Linked DNA regions of Homo sapiens: region 1 is linked to region 2. The links are contacts of gene promoters, found by promoter capture Hi-C in blood cells and fetal thymus (Javierre and others, 2016). All regions are on one chromosome and are shown on one strand. The core of a region is centred on a gene start or on the middle of the fragment in contact, and the rest is flanking DNA. Distances in the headings are between cores, read along the strand shown. Region 1 overlaps LYPD3 (LY6/PLAUR domain containing 3). Region 2 holds the start of XRCC1 (X-ray repair cross complementing 1).

Region 1 (6,112 bases), core at 3,102-5,601, 110 kb before region 2:
GATCCTCCCACCTCAGCATCCCCAAGTAGCTGGGACTACAGGCACGTGCCACCACACCTGGCTAATTTTTAATGTATTTTTCTTAGAGACGAGGTTGCCCAGGATGGTCTTAAATTCCTGGACTCAAGGGATCCGCCTGCCTCAGCCTCCCAAAATGCTGGGATTACAAGCATGAGCCACCACGCCCAGCTGAGTGGTAGGGATTTTGAGCTGGGGTGAATGGCGATTGTAGGTCATTTGCATTTTTAATCGGCTTTACCCAGAAGAGAAGGCAACTTTCTTCTGTCTTCATGACAGGAGGTATTTTACAACTGAGAGCTGAGTCATGTACCAAAGTTAGGCTCTCACCTTCCTGGGGGGAGATAGGAGTGCTATTTCCTTTTATGTTTACAATTTCAAAAAGATAGTTTCCTGGGTCCTGGTCACTCATCCCTGTAATCCCAGCATTTTGAGAAGCCAAGGCAGGAAGATAGCTTGACCCCAGTTCAAGATCAGCCTGGGCAACATAGTGAGACTCCATTTCCTGGGCTATCAACTGGCAAGATACTTTTTTTTTCTTTTTTTTTTTGTGACAGAGTGTCATTTTGTCGCCCCCAGGCTGAAGTGCAATGGCGTGATCTTGGCTCGCTGCAACCTCCGCCTCCCAGGTTGAAGCGATTCTCATGCCTCAGCCTCCTGAGTAGCTGGGATTACAGGCACTTGCCACCACACCTGGCTAATTTCTGTATTTTTAGTAGAGACGGGGTTTCAACATGTTGGTCAGGCTGGTCTTGAACTCCTGACCTCGTGATCCACCCGCCTTGGCCTCCCAAAGTACTGGGATTACGGGCGTGAGCCACCGCGCCCGGCCAAGACTTTTAAAGAGGTTTATATCCATCTCAAATGGACAAAGAAATAATTTACAATGACAAGTTTTCTCAAGTAAATGCTCTAAGAAAAGGGAGGTAAGGGGCCTCTGTGGTTAGACCCTCTGGATTCTGAGGGCCTAGAGGCAGGAGGAAGCCTGTCTAAAGTTTAGTCAAGCTGAGGGAAACATTATGGCAGTGTTGGTACACTCTGTAAAGCTGACCTGCCCGTGTTCAAATCCGAGCTCCACTGCTTAATAGCTGAGTGACGTGGGGCAAGTTTCTTAACCTCTCTAGCCCTGATTTCCCCATCTTGTAAAATGCAGGTGATTAACACTTACTTCATAGGATGGTTTTGTAGATTAAATATATTAATCCAAGTACAGCACTTAATACAGTACCTGGCACATAATCAATGTATTATTTGCTGTGGGTAATTACTTCATCATTCTGAGCCTCAGTTTCCCCAATCATCCCATCTGAAAATATGTGGAAAAGTCAATGAGATGATGGCTGTAAACTGATAGCATAGACTTGGCATCTAGTAAGACTGTCTTTAATCACTAACACAGCTGGGCACGGTGCCTCACATCTGTAATCCCAGCACTTGAGAGACAGAGGCAGGAGGATCATCTGAGCCCAGGAGTTCGAGACCAGCCTGGGTAACATAGTGAGACGCCAATCTCTACAATACAAATAAAAGTTAAATTAAAATTTAAAAATCTCTGCCGGGCATGGTGACTCACGCCTGTAATCCCAGCACTTTGGGAGGCCAAGGTGGGTGGATCACCTGAGGTCAGGAGTTTGAGACCAGCCTGACCAACATGGAGAAACCCCATCTCTACTAAAAATATAAAATTAGCCAAGCATGGTGGCACATGCCTGTAATCCCAGCTACTCGGGAGGCTGAGGCAGGAGAATCGCTTGAACCTGGGAGGGGAGGTTGTGGCGAGCTGAGATTGTGCCATTGCACTCCAGCCTGGGTAACAAGAGCAAAACTCCATTTCAAAAAAAAAAAAAAAGAAAAATCATTAATACTCCCAACACTACATTTACCATCACTGATGTTTCCCTCTATACATGTATTGCAATATATGTGTTTCAGAATAAGAGCTCATACTCTTATTGATGTTCTATTTTGTTGCTATTCTCCTTATTTGCTATTGTTTTGTTGTTACCTCACACTACTCCCCATTATCAATAGTAATATTGGCTATCAATAGCAATATTGGCAATATACTGTTATGATCTCACTATTCCCCACATCTGATCCTCCTCCCATCAAGCAGTCGCAAAGCCTACCAGGAACTCTCTCATTCCCAAACCAGGCTTTTCCCCTCCAGTGCCTCTAGGGCCAGGCCTTCATCTGATTGGAAGGAGATGGAGGTGGGGCTCAAGCCCCAGGTCCCCAACATCAAGCAAAGACCAACAGCAGCACCCCCGGGTCCTACAGACAAGTGGGACACAGTAGGTAAGCCCAGTTAATGACTTTTTTTTTTGAGACGGAGTTTCACTCTTTGCCCACGCTGGAGTGCAGTGGCGTGATCTCGGCTCACCGCAACCTCCACCTCTTGGGTTCAAGCGATTCTCCCGCCTCAGCCTCCCGAGTAGCTGGGATTACAGGCATGTGCCACCATGCCCAGCTAATTTTGTATTTTTAGTAGAGACAGGGTTTCTCCATGTTGGTCAGGCTGGTCTCGGACTCCAGACCTCAGGTGATCCAGCTGCCTCTGCCTCCCAAAGTGCTGGCATTACAGGCATGAGCCACTGCACCCAGGCTTAATGACTCTTAGTAAACCAGATGAAGCCGGGTGCAGTGGCTCCTGCCTGTAATCCCAACACTTTGGGAGTCCAAGGCAGGAGGACTGGGCATCATAGCAAGACCTCATCTCTACAAAAAATAAAATTAGCCAAGTATGATGGGATAAGCCTGTAGTCCCAGCTACTTGGGAGCCTGAGGCAGGAGTTAGAGGTTGCAGTGAGCTATGATTGGGCCACTGCAGTCCAGTTTGGGTGAACAGAGACCCCGTCTCTAAAACAATGCAGACGGCTGGCTGGATGACAAGGCGGGTGGAGCCTAGGGAGGGTACATAAACTCATTAGACAAAGCTCTCTATTCCCTGGCATTGCTAAAAGCCCCATTCGCCCCTCCATGCTGCTTAATGGTTTCGCCCGGTCTCCCCCTCACCAGTGGGACCACCCACATGCAGGATAGACCCAGGAGATTAAAGTTCAACCGTGACTTCCCCCAGGACTGCGGCTCTAGGTCCCATATCTCTCCCGTTAAAGGCTTTATGATGCCCACCCTAGCTCAGCTAGAGCGGTTATTGCGAGAAACAAGGTGGAAGTGACTCCTTTAAAGCACTATACAAAGTAATTAAATCTTTATTGAGGCATTTATGTGCCAGAAACTGATCACACACAGACATAAGGCACGGTCCCTGCCCTCGAGGAGCTCACAGTCTAGTAAGGAAGACATATGGGGAACCGATTCCCCAAAGATGCGGGGAGTAGGGGAGGCAGTGCTTAGAGTGGGGAGCCATTGTCCCACCCACCCCACGCTCCAAAGTCCAGGCTGGCTAGGAGAAAGTGAGTAGGAAGCTTAGCATCCTCTCTCTCACCTTCCCCGTGACAGCTGACTTCTCTCACTCTGTCCTAACATCACAAGAGGACAAGCGGAGAGACAAGGATGAGAAGGATACAGGAGCTGTCCTCAAAAAGCTAGAACACCCCTGGCAGAATATATACAACGGTATTTTATTTCCCAAAGCCGCAAACCAGCGCAGCAGAAGCTGGGGATACTGGGGAATGTTGGAAAAACAGGGGCTGGGCCAGCCCAGTCCAGTGGTGGGAACAGGAAGTGATGAGAAGAGGGGTACCCAGGGCCAGAGAAGTAGGTGAGAGGGAAATTTCCAGGTGGAGAAGCTCACAGTAGGACACCAGCAGCCACGGCCAACAGAAGGGCTGCCAATCCAGCTGTGGGAGCCACACAGCCTTTATTATGGGGCTGCTGGGGCCCCCCTTTTGCAGGATACTGCCCTGAATTGCTGCGGTCCTGGTGGCCAGCGGCGCCTCCAGTCAACCTGGGCTCCTCATCCCGGGAGGCCTCGTGTTCTACTCCCTGTCTCGGAGTCTGACTGGTTGGCGCTGGCATGGGTTTGGTGGTGGATGTGGGTCTCACTGGGGCCGAGGTAGAAGTGGTGACAGATGTGGTTGAGGCCACAGTCGTGGGCTCTGGAGGGGGCAGCCGGACAAGGGGTGGGATTCGAGGGGAGAAGTAGGTCTTGTTGCGGAGGTCAGAGTTACAGCGGGACCCCTGGCAACAGGAGCCACTGAGCGTGAACCCTGGGCCTGTTACTCCATCCCGAGTGCAGAATTCATCCTGGACACAGCCCCGGACAGGCAAGGACACAGTCACATTAGCTGCAGGAAGGAGACACAGATAGGTCAGTGGCTGGAGGGAGAGAGGTTGACATGGCCAGAACAAAACTTAGAGGCATCAGACAAGAACAGAGAACCTGACCGGGCGTGGTGGCTCACGCCTGTAATCCCAGCACTTTGGGAAGCCGAGGCAGGTGGATCACTGGGCAACAGAGTGAGACTCTGTCTTGCAAAAAAAAAAAAGAACAGAGAACCCCCAAAATGAGACAGAAAGTCTCTGCATCCATTAATCCCAAAATCTCAACTCAGGTCCTACTATGAGAAACAGACAGACTCACTGTCTTTGGCACATGGTGGATTAACATTTTCCATTGTGCTTTGAATGGAAATGTGTGTAGGCTGAACCAAAAGTAGGGTTTAAAACAAAGGCTTAGACTGAGATACAAGACCTCTCACAAGACCACAGTGCAGAACAAACTTCCTCTACAACCCTCTCACCATTATCCCCTTAGCCTTCACCCTGGCTTTTACCTCCCCATCAGAATTTACTCTTAGAGTCAGAGTTACATCTCCACACCAGGCTCAGTGGTTCACGGCTGTAATCCCAGCACTCTGGGAGACCTAGGCAGGGGGATCTCTTAGCCCAAGAGTTCAATACCAGCCTGGGTAACATGGCAAGACCCCACTGTTACCAAAAATAAAAGGAACCAGTCGTGGCGGTGCACCCTGTAGTCCCAGCTACTTGGGAGGCTGAGGCGGGAGGACTGCTTGAGCCCAAGAGGTAGAGGCTGCAGTGAGCTATGATTGCGCCACTACACTCCAGGCTAGGCGATAGAGCAAGATGCTGTCTTTAAAAAAAAATAGTAATAATAAAATAAAAAAGAACTACATCTTCCATAGCATAACTGGCAGGGGATGGGATTTGAAGAACTTCATTTTCCATGGTTACATTTCTCAATAGTCTGGGACAGGCGGGGGACCCCTTGAGTTTTAAGGGCTAAGAACTAGAGATTCCCCGCAGTGCCTGGGCAGAAGCTTAGAGGCTTAAATACCTCTTAAGTACCTGGCAGCCCTCTATGGAAATGCATTTCCCTCCAAAACACTCTGGGACAAAGCATCACTATCCCCACACTATTAATATGTTGGGGGAAGGGACTGCATTTTCCATGATGCCCTACGATACAAGCACCTAGGCCCCACGATTCCCAGAATGCGTCGCAGGTTAAGGAAACGCTTTGGGTAAAGGGCTCCCTACCGCCCAGGGTGCTTCAGAAGGGCTACCACAACTCCCGTAGGTCCCGTGCTCCGGGGCTCCCTCACCTGCCGTCAAGGTGACGTTGCCGTCGAAGCAGCCCTTGTAGACATGATCGCTGGCGTTGTAGCAGCTCACGACCGGCGGCGATGTACCCTGGCACGCCTCCCGGCTCAGGCCCACACAGCTGTAGCACTCCACGCCGTTGGGCGGGTATGCACTCTCATTACCTGCGAGGGGAGCCGAGAGGAAGAAAAGGTGTCGAAAGGGTTCGGGAACCGCAGCTCGTCCTCTAGCCCCGCCCCTAAGGCCTGGCCCCGGCACTATCGATGACCCCGCCTACTAGTAGCCCCGCCCCAGCGCGCAACCTCGCGGCGCCTACAGCCAGAAAGTCCCTCCTGCTGCCTCTTGGCCCCGCCCCAGAGTGTGACCCCACCCCCAGCCCAGGTCGAGTACTCCCGCCTCTGCCACGGCTCCACCTCTATCTTGGCAGGCCCGAATGTGGCTCCGCCCCCGCAGCTACGGCCCGGCCCCCACGGACCTGCCGGGTCGAGCGCCCGCGAGGTGAGGTTGAGCTTGGCGTTGCAGCGATCCTGAGCGCATTGCTGCAGCTGGATGAACGCCAGAAGCCCGT
Region 2 (5,673 bases), core at 1,261-3,760:
CAACCTTATGGGCTCAATCAATCCTCCCCGCTCAGCCTCCCTGGTAGCTGGGACTACAGGCATACGCCACCAAGCCCAGCTATTTTTTATAATTTTTCGTAGAGATAGGGTTTCCCCATGTTACCCAGGCTGGTCTCAAACTCCTGGGTTCAAGCGATTCACCCACCTCGACCTCCCAACATGAAAACTGAGACTTATACCAACAAGCATTCTTATAAGAATTTGTGGGATGGCTGCTTTGGCTGCAGTTTGGGAGGATTCAGGTCTCTTCCATGAGATTCCACAGTTTTCTGGGATTAGCAGTAACCTGGCAAATGTTCTCATGGCATATTATGGGAGCACAAAAGCCAAGTGCATTTAAGGCCCTTGCTGAAGTTAGATGTGCTGAAATTCCATTAAGTAAATCATATGGTCAAACTCATCAATGGAGCAGGGAAATATACTCCCCCTCCAGTGGGAGGGAGAGGAGTGGATATTTGCTGAATGACTGCCCATTCACAAAAGGTTAATTTTTCCGTCACCCTAGCACTATCCACAGAGTGTTCTGCTCCTTATAGTCATAAAGCAGCCCCCAGGCCAGGAACAATGGTTCATGCCTGTCATCCGAGCACTTTGGGAGGCTGAAGCAGGAGGAACGCTTGAGCCCAGGAGTTTGAGACCAGCCTGGCAACATGGTGGAAACCCCATCTCTAAAAAAATACAAAAAAAACTAGCCAGGCATGGTGGTGCACACCTGCAGTCCCAGCTACTCAGGAGGCTGAGGTGGGAGGATCGCTTGAGCCCAGGAGGTAGAGGCTGCAGTGAGCCAAGCCAAGATCATGCCACTGCACTACAGCCTGGGAACAGAGTGAGACTCTGTCTCAACAGATAAATAAAAGATTGACTGTCAGGCAAATTGTATAACTTCTTTGGGCCTCAGTTTCCTCATCTGTAAAAGTGGGGATAACAGAGCCTGCCTCTTGGGGTTTTTTATGAGGACTCAATGAGCTAATCCATGTGAGTGAGGTGTGTAGAGCAGCGACTGACAGGTAACGTTGAATAATGCCAGCTCTCATTATTATTATTTTATTTTTTATATTTTGGGGGTCTCACTCTGGTGCCCAGGCTGGAGTGCAGTGGCACAATCTCAGCTCACTGCAGCCTCCATCTCCTGGGCTCAAGCAATTCTCTCACCTCAGACTCGCCAGTAGCTGGGATTGCAGGTGCACACCACCATACTCAGCTAATCTATAAAATTTTGGTAGAGATGACATCTTACTGTATTGCCCAGGCTGGTCTCAAACTCCTGGGCTCATGCAATACTCCAGCTTCGGCCTCCCAAAGTGATGGGATTACAGGTGTGAACCACCATACCTGGCTATTATTCTTTAAAAAAAATTATTTATTTTAATAAAAATAGAGACAGGGTCTTGATATGTTGCCCAGGCTGGTCTGGAACTCCTGAGCTCAAGCAATCCTCCCATCTCAGGCTCTGAAAGTGCTGGGTTTACAGGCATGAGCCACGGCATCCGGCCAGTTTCCCCTTCTTTAAAGTGGAGTTGATTGGCTTAGACGACCTTCCTGGACACCTTCCAGCCCTGAGCCCACTGGCTGCAGGAGGCAGAGTACGTGGCAATGATTCATTTTGTTCCAGCTGAGGAAACTGGAACCCAGAAAGTAGATGCCACCTGCCCAGGACCACACACTGATTCCTGTGGTCATCCTGGACTTAATCCTTGGGTCTCCTTTCCTCTCTGCTGAGGGGCACAGGGATTATGCTGCCCATTTTCCGAGTAAGGAAGCTGAGGCCCAGCAAAGAAAGTGACTAAACCCACTGCCAGTTGGCTCAGGAGCAGAATCTGGAACCCCGGACTCCAGACTCCTAGTGAGGAGGAGGTGGGGTGGCAGGATCACCTGTAGGACCACAGAGATGGTCTTCTCGCCTGCCTTGGCTGCCCGCCATTTTCGGTAAGTGTCTGCCTTGAGAAGATTTTCTGCACAGTGAGTCTGGAAACAACAGTGGGAGAGGAGAATTAGGGCACAGAGATGACAGCTAGGCCTCCAGCTCTCAGATGATTCCTTTGAGTCCTCCCAAGGCCTCTACGACCCCCAGATTTAAGCTCTCCCGTTAATCCCCCGACACTCTGCCTGGAGTTTCCCCTACAACACTTTCCCGTGGAAGTTCACCTATGGGCTCTCCAAGAAAGCTTCCCTATTCCTCCTTTTCTCTCCGGAAGTTCCCTAGACGCCGGAACGTCCCTAATTCAACATCTCTCCACAATTCACTTTTAGCCTCCTGGAAATCCCCCCATGACTCTCCTTAGACTTCCAAGAGAACCCCAAAAGCTCTTTTAAGAGCTATCCTCATTAATTCCCTCACGTCTTCCAACCTCCCCCATGCAGGTCCCTCACCGAGTCCTGGCTGCTGCAGGACACGACATGGCGGAGGCGGATCTCCGGCATGTCAACGTCGTGGGCTTCGCCTGGCCAGAAGGATGAGGTAGAGTATGGGGTCCGAGGGGCAGGGAGAGTGGGAGGGGGCGGGGTGCGCCCTGCGCTGGCTAAAGTGCGCAAGCGCGCGAGGCTCGGGCCTTTCAAACCCCGGCGCGCCGGCGCCGGCGTCGACACTGCGCAAGCCCAGTCGCGCCTCTCCAGAGCGGGAAGAGCGCTGCGTTCCTTAGCAACGAGCGTTTCCTCCAGCCCCGCCTCCCTCCGCCACACACAACCCCGCTCTAGCCTCGCCTCCCAATGACGTCCGAACCCTGCTTTCTGGGAGCCTAGCAACAGAAGCGACCTCCGGGATTGGTGTCTGGAAGAAATTCGCCTTTCTCATTGCACGATGGAGTTACCGCCCACACTGAAGCCGAGAAAGCAAATCTTTTTGCTGTATTATTATTTATTTTATTTTTTAAAAATTTTTTGTTGAGACAGGGTCTTGCTCTCTCACCCAGGATGGAGTGCAGTGGCACGATCTCGGCTTTCTGCAACCCCTGTCTCCTGGGGCCAAGGGATCCTCCCACTTCAGCCTCCTAAGTAGCTGGGATTACACGCACGCGCCACCACATTCGGCTAATTTTTGTATTTTTTGTGGAGACATGGGGTGAGAGGGCGGCGGGTCTTGCCATGTTGCCCAGACTGGTCTCGAACTCCTCAGCTCAAGCGATCCACCTGCCTCGGCCTCTCAAAGTGCTGGAACTACAGGCGTGAGCGACTGCGCTGGGCTAGGACAGCAAATCTGAGTGAATTTTCGTAGTTTCGTAGGGAACCTGGATTCTACGCAACAGGATCTCTTCAAATGGCTCAGGCGGCTGCACTCTTCTCTCTGTCCCCTTGCCACACACACACACACGCACATATACATACATACGCGCGCGCGCACGCGCGAAAAAAATTAGCAGATCTCTTTCAGCCTTATGCCTGAGGCCAAAAGAGAAGGGTTCTGCGTCCTAAATATAACACAAAGCATGTGCCCAACCCCCACCACACACACACACACACACCCCTATCCTGGAGTTCTTCCACAAAAGCCTCAGTTTCCCAATATGTGGACTGTGGGCATCTGTCTTTTACTACGCCCGCCTATGACTGCCGACAGACATCCCTCTGTTCATTCGGTGCCTTGGAGACCCAAGGGTGCAGCCCTGGGTGGGGTCGCAGCTGGAGACAGCCCAAACACACAAGGAGTGTGAGCCGAGCACATGAAGAGAGGGGAAGGGAGACAAGGCACCCCGCACCCGCAGGACCAGCCTGGACATGCTGGGTGCTCCAAGGTGGGGCCCTACCCACACTGGGTGCTTCCTTGGGAGGAGAGGGGAAGAGAGAGAAGGAGAGGGAATCCCAGTTCTTGCAGCCACTGGGAATCAAGAGGCCCAACTCCGTCTTGGTCTTCAAGCAAACAAACAAACAACAATGGGCCGTGGGAAGGTGAGAAAACAGGGTGGTGACTTTCTGGGTTCTAATAGAAGAGGGGGATGGAAGCCCAGACTCCTGGGGTCTCCATGGAGGTGGGGGGCTGGGCACAAGATGCCCAGGTCACTTTTGGATTCTGGTTCTGCCTTCCCAACCCGGAGGCCACAGAGGACTGCCCTGGGTTCTGACCTCAGCTATTTCTCCCCGTAGGGTGAATGTGGGTCCAGACCCACCCCTCCTCAGCTTCCTATAAAAGCTGGGGACCAGGTACTGCTGATACACACACCATGAGGCTCTCCAGGAGACCAGAGACCTTTCTGCTGGCCTTTGTGTTGCTCTGCACCCTCCTGGGTCTTGGTAAGTGACAAGGGACCTGAACTGTCTCTGGGACCTCAGGAAGAGAGAGGTCCCAGATTGAGAGAGAGAGAGATATAGAGAGAGAAAGAGCCTTCAGCAAGTCCTCAAGGTGAACGGGGAGGCATTCTGGAAATTCAGATTCATGGAAGAGGCCAAGGGTAAAGGAAGAGAAAGCCTGGGGGTCCCAGAGAAGAAAAGCTCCTGTGATTGGATCCCTGAGAGAGGGGCTTGGTGGGCTCTGAATCCTCCATCCTCCAGGAAGGATCCCAAACACATCTCAATTCTAGGAAATCAGATGAGAGCATGGCTGGAAAGGGAAATCTTTAAAAATATAATTAAAAAAAAAAAAAGAGGGAGAAGGCCAGGTGCGGTGGCTCATGCCTGTAACCCCAGCACTTTAAGAGGCCGAGGCAGGTGGATCACTTGAGGTCAGGAGTTCAAGACCAGCCTGGCCAACATGGTGAAACCCCGTCTTTACTAAAAATACAAAAAAAGTTAGCTGAGCTTGGTGGTGGGCGCCTGTAATCCTAGCTACTTGGGAGGCTGAGGTGAGAGGATTGCTTGAAACTGGGAGGCAAAGGTTGCAGTGAGCCAAGATCGTGCCACTGCACTCCCCAGCCTGGGTGACAGAGCAAAACTCCATCTCAAAAAAAATACATTAATATCATATGATATATTTTTTTAAAAGAGGTAGAGAGATTTCCTTTCTCCTTAGACTAAGAAGTTCAGGCCCCAGCCCCCTCCTCCCCTGCACACAGGAGTCCAAGTAAGCCTCACTTTCCCCAGGACCCAGGTTTCTGGGCCCCTAGCTGTCCCCTCTCTCAGAACCAAGAAGTTCAAGTCCTCTGCCCTCCTGGTCCTCACTCTCCCTCCTTGACCTGGGATGCAGACCCTAGCCTCAGGGCCCCCTGCCTGAGCTCCTGCTGTCTACAAGACCTACATGGCACCTTCAAGGAGGAGAATCCCACATTCAAGAACCAGCTGGACCTGAAGTTTCACAAAAGTCCATGGAAACCTCCATCACGACCCCTCCCTGCCCCTGAGCTTTCTCAGCGGACCCTGGCATCCAAAATCCCCAGCCATGTAATTAGGCAAACAGGCTTCATGGTGGAGTCGCTTCCCGCCCCTGGAAGCAGCTTTGCTGGCATCACCACTGCTTCTTCGTCCAACTCTGGACAGTTCCTTGGGCAGTGGTCAACATCCCGCCCATGAAAAACCAGGGAGCTGCTGGTCCCTCCTCTCTCAGGACACAAAAGTCCTAAGTCAAAGTCGTGGTCCGAAGACCACACCACCCATGACTACAGCCTCGCCCTCTGTCTACACTGCAGGGTGCCCACTACACTGCGAAATATGTACGGCGGCGGGGAGCAGGTGCCATGGCCAAATGAAGACCTGCAGCAGTGACAAGGACACATGTGTGCTCCTGGT

Evidence for each region. Contacts are between HindIII fragments. The CHiCAGO score rates a contact against its expected background, and 5 or more counts as called.
Region 1: a fragment that was not itself captured here is called in contact with the fragment with the promoter of XRCC1 in region 2 in 11 of 17 cell types (fetal thymus, naive CD4 T cells, naive CD8 T cells and 8 more); the score reaches 17.3 in fetal thymus.

The regions. Positions count from the first base shown.
Region 1 is chr19:43,457,580-43,463,691 of GRCh38, forward strand. LYPD3 (LY6/PLAUR domain containing 3) reads right to left here. Exons shown (of 5, transcript NM_014400.3): 3 at 6,020-6,112; 4 at 5,547-5,708; 5 at 3,208-4,268. The coding sequence ends at 3,772. Among named protein-coding and RNA genes, the nearest start is that of LYPD3, 5.0 kb to the right of the region's middle. RefSeq lists enhancers at 5,558-5,617, 5,648-5,697 and a silencer at 5,848-6,007. The HindIII fragment of the contact is 1,815 bases long and covers 3,445-5,259 here.
Region 2 is chr19:43,573,017-43,578,689 of GRCh38, forward strand. XRCC1 (X-ray repair cross complementing 1) reads right to left here and starts at 2,511. Exons shown (of 17, transcript NM_006297.3): 1 at 2,392-2,511; 2 at 1,894-1,986. The coding sequence starts at 2,442. It overlaps PINLYP (phospholipase A2 inhibitor and LY6/PLAUR domain containing), which reads left to right and starts at 2,785. Exons shown (of 6, transcript NM_001193621.3): 1 at 2,785-3,903; 2 at 4,099-4,245; 3 at 5,574-5,673. The coding sequence starts at 4,176. RefSeq lists a silencer at 2,465-2,624 and enhancers at 2,725-2,884, 2,885-3,411, 3,412-3,937. The HindIII fragment of the contact is 21,720 bases long and covers 2,185-5,673 here.